Linked DNA regions of Homo sapiens: region 1 is linked to region 2. The links are contacts of gene promoters, found by promoter capture Hi-C in blood cells and fetal thymus (Javierre and others, 2016). All regions are on one chromosome and are shown on one strand. The core of a region is centred on a gene start or on the middle of the fragment in contact, and the rest is flanking DNA. Distances in the headings are between cores, read along the strand shown.

The links. The method cuts DNA at HindIII sites, captures the fragments that hold promoters and counts their contacts. A CHiCAGO score of 5 or more calls a contact.
Region 1: a fragment that was not itself captured here is called in contact with the fragment with the promoter of NPY in region 2 in 1 of 17 cell types (erythroblasts); the score reaches 5.4 in erythroblasts.

Annotation. Positions count from the first base shown.
Region 1 is chr7:23,574,721-23,579,157 of GRCh38, forward strand. No RefSeq gene overlaps it. Among named protein-coding and RNA genes, the nearest start is that of CCDC126, 20 kb to the right of the region's middle. The HindIII fragment of the contact is 1,405 bases long and covers 1,533-2,937 here.
Region 2 is chr7:24,281,009-24,285,553 of GRCh38, forward strand. It overlaps NPY (neuropeptide Y), which reads left to right and starts at 3,182. Exons shown (of 4, transcript NM_000905.4): 1 at 3,182-3,267; 2 at 4,233-4,420. The coding sequence starts at 4,233. All of the region lies in intron 2 of LOC107986777 (a long non-coding RNA gene), which reads right to left. The HindIII fragment of the contact is 8,579 bases long and covers 1-4,545 here.

The DNA of each region.
Region 1 (4,437 bases), core at 985-3,484, 710 kb before region 2:
TAGCTGGGACTACAGGCGCCTGCCACCACACCTGGCTAATTTTTTTTTTTTTTTTTTGTATTTTTATTAGAGACCGGGTTTCACCGTGTTAGCCAGGATGGTCTCGATCTCCTGACCTCGTGATCCGCCCGTCTCGGCCTCCCGAAGTGCTGGGATTACAGGCGTGAGCCACCCCCACTCCCGTTTAGTTCAAAAATTTTTAAGTATGTAACAGTGAGGAGGCAAGGTCCTGTCTTCTCGACTGCTGTTCATGGCATGTCTAGTCTTTTGCCTTAGGCTGGCCCCAGAGACTTTGGCCAAGTTGCATTCAGAACATGTAGGCCAGGGCCAGGCATGGTGATTCATGCCTGTAATCCCAGCACTTTGGGAGACCCAGGTGGGTGGATCACTGGAGGTCAGGGGTTCGAGACCAGCCTGGCCAACATGGTGAAACCTCATCTCTACTAAGCATACAAGAATTAGGTGGGCATGGTGGTGCATGCCTGTAATCCCAGCTACCTGGGAGGCTGAGTCAGGAGAATTGCTTGAACCCAGGAGGTAGAGGTTGCAGTGAGCCGAGATCGTGCCACTGCACTCTAGCCTGGGTGACAGAGTGAGACTCTGTCTCAAAATAAAACAAAAACATCTAGGCCAGGCCTGTGTTATGAAATAGCAAGAGTTCAGGGGACTGTGTGTGCTCTACCAGTAAATCCTGTTATAGATGCACATATGGCACTAGTAGTGTGTGTCTGTAACTTTGTGATATCCTCCACCCCAAGCACAATAAAGCCTACAATAAAGGCCTTGCTAAAATAAAGTATACATGCTATAATTTTAGCCAAAAATCCAGAAACATTCTTGAAATCACTTATGCCACTTCGAATTAGTTGGATGTTAATCAGCCAATAGCAATGATATTCTCTGGATCAAATCAAAGACTAAATACACTATTCTTTTTTTTTTTTTCTTTTCTTGACACAGGGTCTCGCTCTGTCACCCAGACTGGAATGCAGTGGCACGGTTTTAGCTCACTACAGTCTCCACCGCCAGGTTCAGGCGATTCTCATGCCTCAGCCTCCCCAGTAGCAGGGATTACAGGTGCATGCCAGAATGCCCAGCTAATTTTTGTATTTTTAGTAGAGACAGGGTTTCGCCATGTTGGCCAGGCTGGTCTCGAACTCCTGGCTTCAAGTGATCCACCTGCCTTGGCCTCCCAAAGTGCTGGGATTACAGGCCACCGTGCCTGGCCTAAATATAGTATTCTTGATCTGCCCAAACACTGAACACCCTGATGAAGTATAAACAAAATCACTTTTGAACACAGGAGGAAAATGTTTATTAAATGTTGTTAACGTAATTGGATTTAATTTAGACAAGATATACAATGCACTAGAAAAGTTAAACAAAACAAAAGAAGATCTTTAAGCAAAGAGCAATTTGTGAGCTTTGTGGGAGAATGAAATTTATTTTGAAGTTGCACTAGTCACAGTTATTTGGTATTACTATTTCTAATGTCATTAATTCCTATTCATTGCTATTACTAATGTTAGCAAAGCTTTAGCAAAAAACCTTACATATCCAAGTTTCACTTTTGAGAAAATATTTTTTAAATTTTAGAGAAAATAGTTCTTTTTTTTCTGAGTCTGTTTCTAGGGAAGAGAAAATAGTTCTAAAACAAAGTATACTGAACAAGATGACATTCAAATAAAATATGCAGAAATTAGAGCAAAGAAACAGAAAAGTTTATATAAATTTCATAAATGAGATGATTCATGTACAAATAACCATCAAACATTTCCATAAAGCATGCTTTCTAGATATGATAGATTGAAGAGACATTTAAACAAATTGATTAGCATACTCCCAATTTTAGTTTTTTTTGTAATGCCCCAGCATTAAAAACTTTGAAACAACTTAATAAATATTCTCCTTCTTTTTTTTTTTTCTGAGACAGAGTCTCACTCTGTTGCCCAGGCTGTAGTACAGTGATGCGGTCTTAGCTCACAGCAACCTCCACCTTCTGGGTTCAAATGATTCTCCTGCCTCAGCCTCCTGAGTAGCTGGGACTACAGGAACAAGCCACCATTCCTGGCTAATTTTTGTATTTTTGGTAGAGATGGGGTTTCACCATGTTGGCCAGGCTGGTCTTGAACTGACCTCAGGTGATCCACCCGCCTCAGCCCCCCAAAGTGTTGGGATTACAGGTGTGAGCCATCATGCCCGGCCAGAATTTAATATTCTATGGATATATTGTTTTTAAAGAGATAATAGGCCAGGCATGGTGCTTCACGCCTGTAATCCCAGCACTTTGAAGGCCCAAGGTGGGAAGATTGCTTGAGGCCAGGAGTTCGAGACCAGCCTCGGCAAAATAGCCAGACCTCCGTCTCTAATTTTTTTAAAAAATAAGAAAAAGAAAATTGCAATATAACTGAAAGCAATTTGTATAGTAAAATTAAAATATTTGCAATATTTTTATTATAATAATTTATTATATGCATTACAATAAACAATTAATGGCATCATTTTATTGTCATGGTATATGATGCTAGAGGTAAGACTAGTGCTTACTTTAGGGCCGGGTACAGTGGCTCACATCTGTAATCCCAGCACTTTGGGAGACCGAGGTGGGTGAATTACTTGAATCCACGAGTTTGAGATCAGCCTGGGCAATATGGCCAAACGTTGTTTCTACAAAAAATACAAAGCTGAAGTGGGAGGACGACTTGAGTCCAGGAGGCAGAGGTTGCAGTGAGCTCAGAAAGCACCATTGCACTCCAACGTGGACTACAGAGACCCTGTCTCCAAAAAAAAAAAAAAAAGAATACTGCTTACTTTGTGGGGTACAGAAAGAATAGAAAGGGGCCTGAGAGATCTTACTGGGGAGCTGATCTATTTCTTGATCTGGGTGGTGGGTTTCATGGGCATAAACATGCACAAAGGTATTGAGTTATACACTTAAGCTTTGTGCACTTTACTGTATACAGGTTGTACACCTCAATGTGAATGTTTAAAAATTCATGGTTCTTTTTTTTTTTTTTTTGAGATGGAGTCTTGCTTTGTCGCCCACGCTGGAGTGCAATGGCACAATCTCAGCTCACTGCAACCTCTGCCTCCCGGGTTCAAGCGATTCTTCTGCCTCAGCCTCCCGAGTAGCTGGGATTACATGCATGTGCCACCACGCCCGGCTAATTTTTGTATTTTTAGTAGAAACGGGATTTCACCATGTTGGCCAGGCTGGTCTCCAACTCCTGATGTCAGGTGATCCACCCGCCTCGGGCTCCCAAAGTGGATTACAGGCGTGAGCCACTGTACCCAGACCATGGTTAATTTTTTAATATAAGTATGGCATCAGATGAGTGAAATTTCTCCAAATTAATACAAAAATTGGCCGGGTGCAGTAGCTCATGCCTGTAATCCCAGCACTTTGGGAGGTCGAGGCGGGTGGATCACCTGAGGTCAGGAGTTCGAGACCAGCCTGGCCAACATAGTGAAACCCCCATCTCTATTAAAAACACAAAAATTAGCTGGGCGTGGTGGTGCATGCCTGTAATCTGAGCTACTCAGGAGGCTGAGGCAGGAGAATCACTTGAACCCGGGAGGTGGAGGTTGCAGTGAGCTGAGATGGTACTACTGCACTGCAGCCTGGGTGTTTTAGCAAGACTCTGTCTCAGAAAAAAAATTATATATCTATAACCACTCGAAAACGTGTGTCTGCATTGGTCTTGCTGCCAGTAGAAAAGAAAATAGGGGAAGGTTTTGATTGTTATAGTGATTTTGCTGAAAAAGAAAGGCAAGAAAAATAAAGTTTTAGAATAAATATCTAATTTTTGAATTACATAGGTCTTTAAAACTCATCCAGATGTCATCATCCATCAACAGAAGATGTGGGTAAAAATAATTAATTTTAGCCTTCTTGGATGTTATGCCAACTCTAAGTCATATAAAACTCAGAGTTTTACAGATACATTTCAATTTTTCTTTTTAAAAAATTAAGGCTGAATGAAAAGGTTAAATTTGTCTTTACAAAGGAATATTTGGCAAGGAAGAAGAATAAATATCTAATTTTACAGCATGTTATTATCACTTATGACTTTTTTTTTTTTTTTTTGAGACAGAGCCTCACTCTGTTGCCTAGGCTGGAGTGCAGTGGTGCTATCTCGGCTCACTGCAACCTTCACCTCCCGGGTCAAGCGATTCTTCTGCCTCAGCTTCCCATGTAGCTGGGACTACGGGCGTGCGCTACCACTCCTGGCTAATTTTTGTGTTTTTGGTAGTGACAGAGTTTCTCCACGTTGGCCAGGCTGGTCTTGAACTCCTGACCTCGTGATCCACCTGCCTCGGCCTCCAAAAGTGCTGGGATTACAGGTGTGAGCCACCACGCCCGGCATCACTTATGACTTTTAAATATTTAAACTTATGATATATAGGCTGCCTTTGGTTTCTTGCCTCAGACCCCAC
Region 2 (4,545 bases), core at 1,932-4,431:
CCTATCAAAAATTATCAGGCACACAAAGAAGAAGAAAAATATAAGCCATAATGTGGAGAAAAATCAATCAACCCAAAGTATACAAAAATCACACAGATGTTAGTAGTACAAAAGTTATTATTAATGTATATTCAAGAAGCTAGAGAGAAGAGTGGACACGTTTAGATACGGAAGATATAAAAAAGATTCATTGCTTTATATTGTCCTGTAACTTAAAAAAAAGATTCAAGTTGAAACTCTAGAGATGAAAGCTACCAGGTATAAGGTGCAAAATACACTGGATAGGATTGGCAGTAATCAGATATTACAGAAGAAAACATTAGTGAACTCACAGACATAGCAATAGAGACTATCCAAAATAAAATATGAAGGAAAAAATGAGCAAAACAGAAGCAAAAACAGATCACCAACAAACTGTGGGCCAATATACACTCACCGTCTGACTCAGCCATTCTGGTTTTAAGTATTTTCCAAGAGAATTAAAGGCTTTATGTCCATACAAAGACTTGCATATGAATGTCAAGGCAGCTTTATTCGTAAAAGTTTCAAGTGAAAATAACCAAAAATTCATGAGCAGTAGAATTGATTAAAAATTTTGAAGTATATCATATAATGAAATACTGCCCAGCAATAAAAAAGAATAAACTATTGCTACATTTAACAATGTGAGTGGATTCAAAAATAATGATGCTAAGTGAAAGAAGTCAGACAAAGAGTACCTACCGTGGAACTATATTTATGTGCAATTCTAGAAAACGCAAACAAATCTCTAGTGATAGCAGATCAATGGAGGAGGGGGTGAGGAAGAGGCAAAAGGAAGGAATTACAAAGGTACATGTGGAAATTTGGGGAAGTGATGTATAATCTTCATTTTCTTGGTTTCAGTGATGGCTTCCTGAGCATATAACACACATGCATATGTGTAAGAATATATCCAATTGAATATTTTACACATTTGTAGCTTTGTATATATTCAGCAGTATCTATTCATTCCTTCTGCTTCTTTACCTTAGGTTTAGTCATGAAACCACTGGGTTTCATGTGGTCCAGGTTCTATCTGAATCAAGCTATGAACCTGCTATCAGTAAGACCTCCTAATTGCAAACCACATGGACCTTTACCGGTTATTTGACTTCTCTCGGTCATTACCTTCTCTAGTCTCCACTGATTCACCTCCTTTTGAATCTCAACAAGCTCAACAGTATCTCAATGTTATCTTAACAAAGCTGTTAGAAATAAACAACTTGACTTTGAAACAAAGGAGAGAAATGGCTCAGCAGCTAGGAGAAGATGCAGGGTTGAGTTGCCAACAGTTGGTTTTGTTTGTATTTTGGCCAGGGGATGTGGCTTGGACTGGAGAGAAAGGAGATAAGGATGTAAGCACATGTAGGGCATATCACCCCCTATTTTTTATTCTCTGAATCCTTAACCCTCAGAATAAGTTCTTATTCTTGAGAATCAATGACATTATCTTAAGCTAAATTAATCAAGCCTCCACAGTGTTCTTCTCTCAATAGTGGTGTGGGCCTTCCTAGAAGTAATTTTTCCCAAATTCAGTGATACATTTTAAGTTCAGATTTTAATTGATATGAATCTGTGATACACTCTAAAATAAGATTATTTTATTGAAAAGTGGACTGTAACTTTCCCTTTATCTAGGAAGAGCTCTAAGTTAGAAGATGTTTTGCACTTTTACCGAAGGCTGTGTCTTGTAAGCACCCCCGAGCAACTCTGAGAGCCTTGATTTTTGTGTCCTCAGCATATGTTTGTGTAATACAGAAAGAGAAGCAGTTGCCAAGTGAAAGGGATGTTGGTCTCCAAAATTATAGTTTGATCCCACAAACACACAAACACATACATGCAAAGGATTGTTTGCTTCACGGTTTTTGATATTTAATTCAATGCTGTTGGAACAGCACAAAAACTAAGTGTCAGTTTAACAGAATCACTTGTCCTTTTAGCATTAAAATAACATGGAACTTAATGCTTTAATTTCCCAACATGCCTTTTTATTTAGAAAGATTCAGACTTATATTTCATTTAGAAATAAAATGCCATTTTATTTAGAAAGATACAGGAGCATTCATTCACGGAACTTTCAGATCTCAGTCCACTGCATAAAATCTTGATCCTGTAATAATAGTTTCTGTATCTTGCATATTCATTCAACAGGTTTAACGCGATGAGCAAATTAATGTTCATCGTTTTTAACATGTTTCATCTTAATCAGAACCCACATTCTCAACGTTAATTGAACGTACATAGGACTATACAAGGGTTAGTAAATAAGACAGAAACTGTTGTTCATTTAACCACCGTCACTTTGGACCAAAAAAGAAAAAATATATATTTTTAAAATTGAGCTTAAAAGAGTCTCTAGAAGCTGGAAGCGTGGCTCTTTTTCAGCAAACTGGGGGAATAGGTTTACCGTGTTCCCCCTCTGGGGAATTTTGAGTCGCCACACTCATGTCTCGACCGAGCCTGGCTCGCTGCGTCTGAGCGAGTACTTGAGGAAGGCTGATCTAGAAAAACCAGCTGAGAGAAGGGGCAGAAGCCCCTGAAACCACGGGCGGGGGTGGGGTGGGGAGCGCAGCTTTGGGACCCTCTAGCCGGAGACTTCCGGCAGCTGCCTCCGACTTGTTCTAAGTACAGGAAAAATCTGTGCGCCCAGTTGCCTCACTCCAACAGCGCGCAGTTGTGCCCGGCGAGGATGCCGCGCTAGTCGTGGAGATGCCCCACCACAAAGAGGATTCAGGTGCTTCCTACTCCGGCACCCAGTGGGTTGGTAGTCCTGTTGGCAGGAGACAAGAATCGTCTGGGCTGCTCCTATCTCTGGCAGGACTAGACGGGGCGTGAAGGAAAGAAGGAAAGAAGGAAAGCAGGGATCGGGCACTGCCCGAGGGCAGATACTTGGGCTTTGGTGTTGTCCAGCGCGCTCGGAGTGCGCTGCCTCGCTCACGCGGTCCCAGGCCCCGCTTCTTCAGGCAGTGCCTGGGGCGGGAGGGTTGGGGTGTGGGTGGCTCCCTAAGTCGACACTCGTGCGGCTGCGGTTCCAGCCCCCTCCCCCCGCCACTCAGGGGCGGGAAGTGGCGGGTGGGAGTCACCCAAGCGTGACTGCCCGAGGCCCCTCCTGCCGCGGCGAGGAAGCTCCATAAAAGCCCTGTCGCGACCCGCTCTCTGCACCCCATCCGCTGGCTCTCACCCCTCGGAGACGCTCGCCCGACAGCATAGTACTTGCCGCCCAGCCACGCCCGCGCGCCAGCCACCGTGAGTGCTACGACCCGTCTGTCTAGGGGTGGGAGCGAACGGGGCGCCCGCGAACTTGCTAGAGACGCAGCCTCCCGCTCTGTGGAGCCCTGGGGCCCTGGGATGATCGCGCTCCACTCCCCAGCGGACTATGCCGGCTCCGCGCCCCGACGCGGACCAGCCCTCTTGGCGGCTAAATTCCACTTGTTCCTCTGCTCCCCTCTGATTGTCCACGGCCCTTCTCCCGGGCCCTTCCCGCTGGGCGGTTCTTCTGAGTTACCTTTTAGCAGATATGGAGGGAGAACCCGGGACCGCTATCCCAAGGCAGCTGGCGGTCTCCCTGCGGGTCGCCGCCTTGAGGCCCAGGAAGCGGTGCGCGGTAGGAAGGTTTCCCCGGCAGCGCCATCGAGTGAGGAATCCCTGGAGCTCTAGAGCCCCGCGCCCTGCCACCTCCCTGGATTCTTGGGCTCCAAATCTCTTTGGAGCAATTCTGGCCCAGGGAGCAATTCTCTTTCCCCTTCCCCACCGCAGTCGTCACCCCGAGGTGATCTCTGCTGTCAGCGTTGATCCCCTGAAGCTAGGCAGACCAGAAGTAACAGAGAAGAAACTTTTCTTCCCAGACAAGAGTTTGGGCAAGAAGGGAGAAAAGTGACCCAGCAGGAAGAACTTCCAATTCGGTTTTGAATGCTAAACTGGCGGGGCCCCCACCTTGCACTCTCGCCGCGCGCTTCTTGGTCCCTGAGACTTCGAACGAAGTTGCGCGAAGTTTTCAGGTGGAGCAGAGGGGCAGGTCCCGACCGGACGGCGCCCGGAGCCCGCAAGGTGGTGCTAGCCACTCCTGGGTTCTCTCTGCGGGACTGGGACGAGAGCGGATTGGGGGTCGCGTGTGGTAGCAGGAGGAGGAGCGCGGGGGGCAGAGGAGGGAGGTGCTGCGCGTGGGTGCTCTGAATCCCCAAGCCCGTCCGTTGAGCCTTCTGTGCCTGCAGATGCTAGGTAACAAGCGACTGGGGCTGTCCGGACTGACCCTCGCCCTGTCCCTGCTCGTGTGCCTGGGTGCGCTGGCCGAGGCGTACCCCTCCAAGCCGGACAACCCGGGCGAGGACGCACCAGCGGAGGACATGGCCAGATACTACTCGGCGCTGCGACACTACATCAACCTCATCACCAGGCAGAGGTGGGTGGGACCGCGGGACCGATTCCGGGAGCGCCAGTGCCTGCACACCAGGAGATCCTGGGGATGTTAGGGAAAGGGATTGTTTCTTTTCCTTCGCTCTATCCCAGGGCAGGACAGTATCAGGC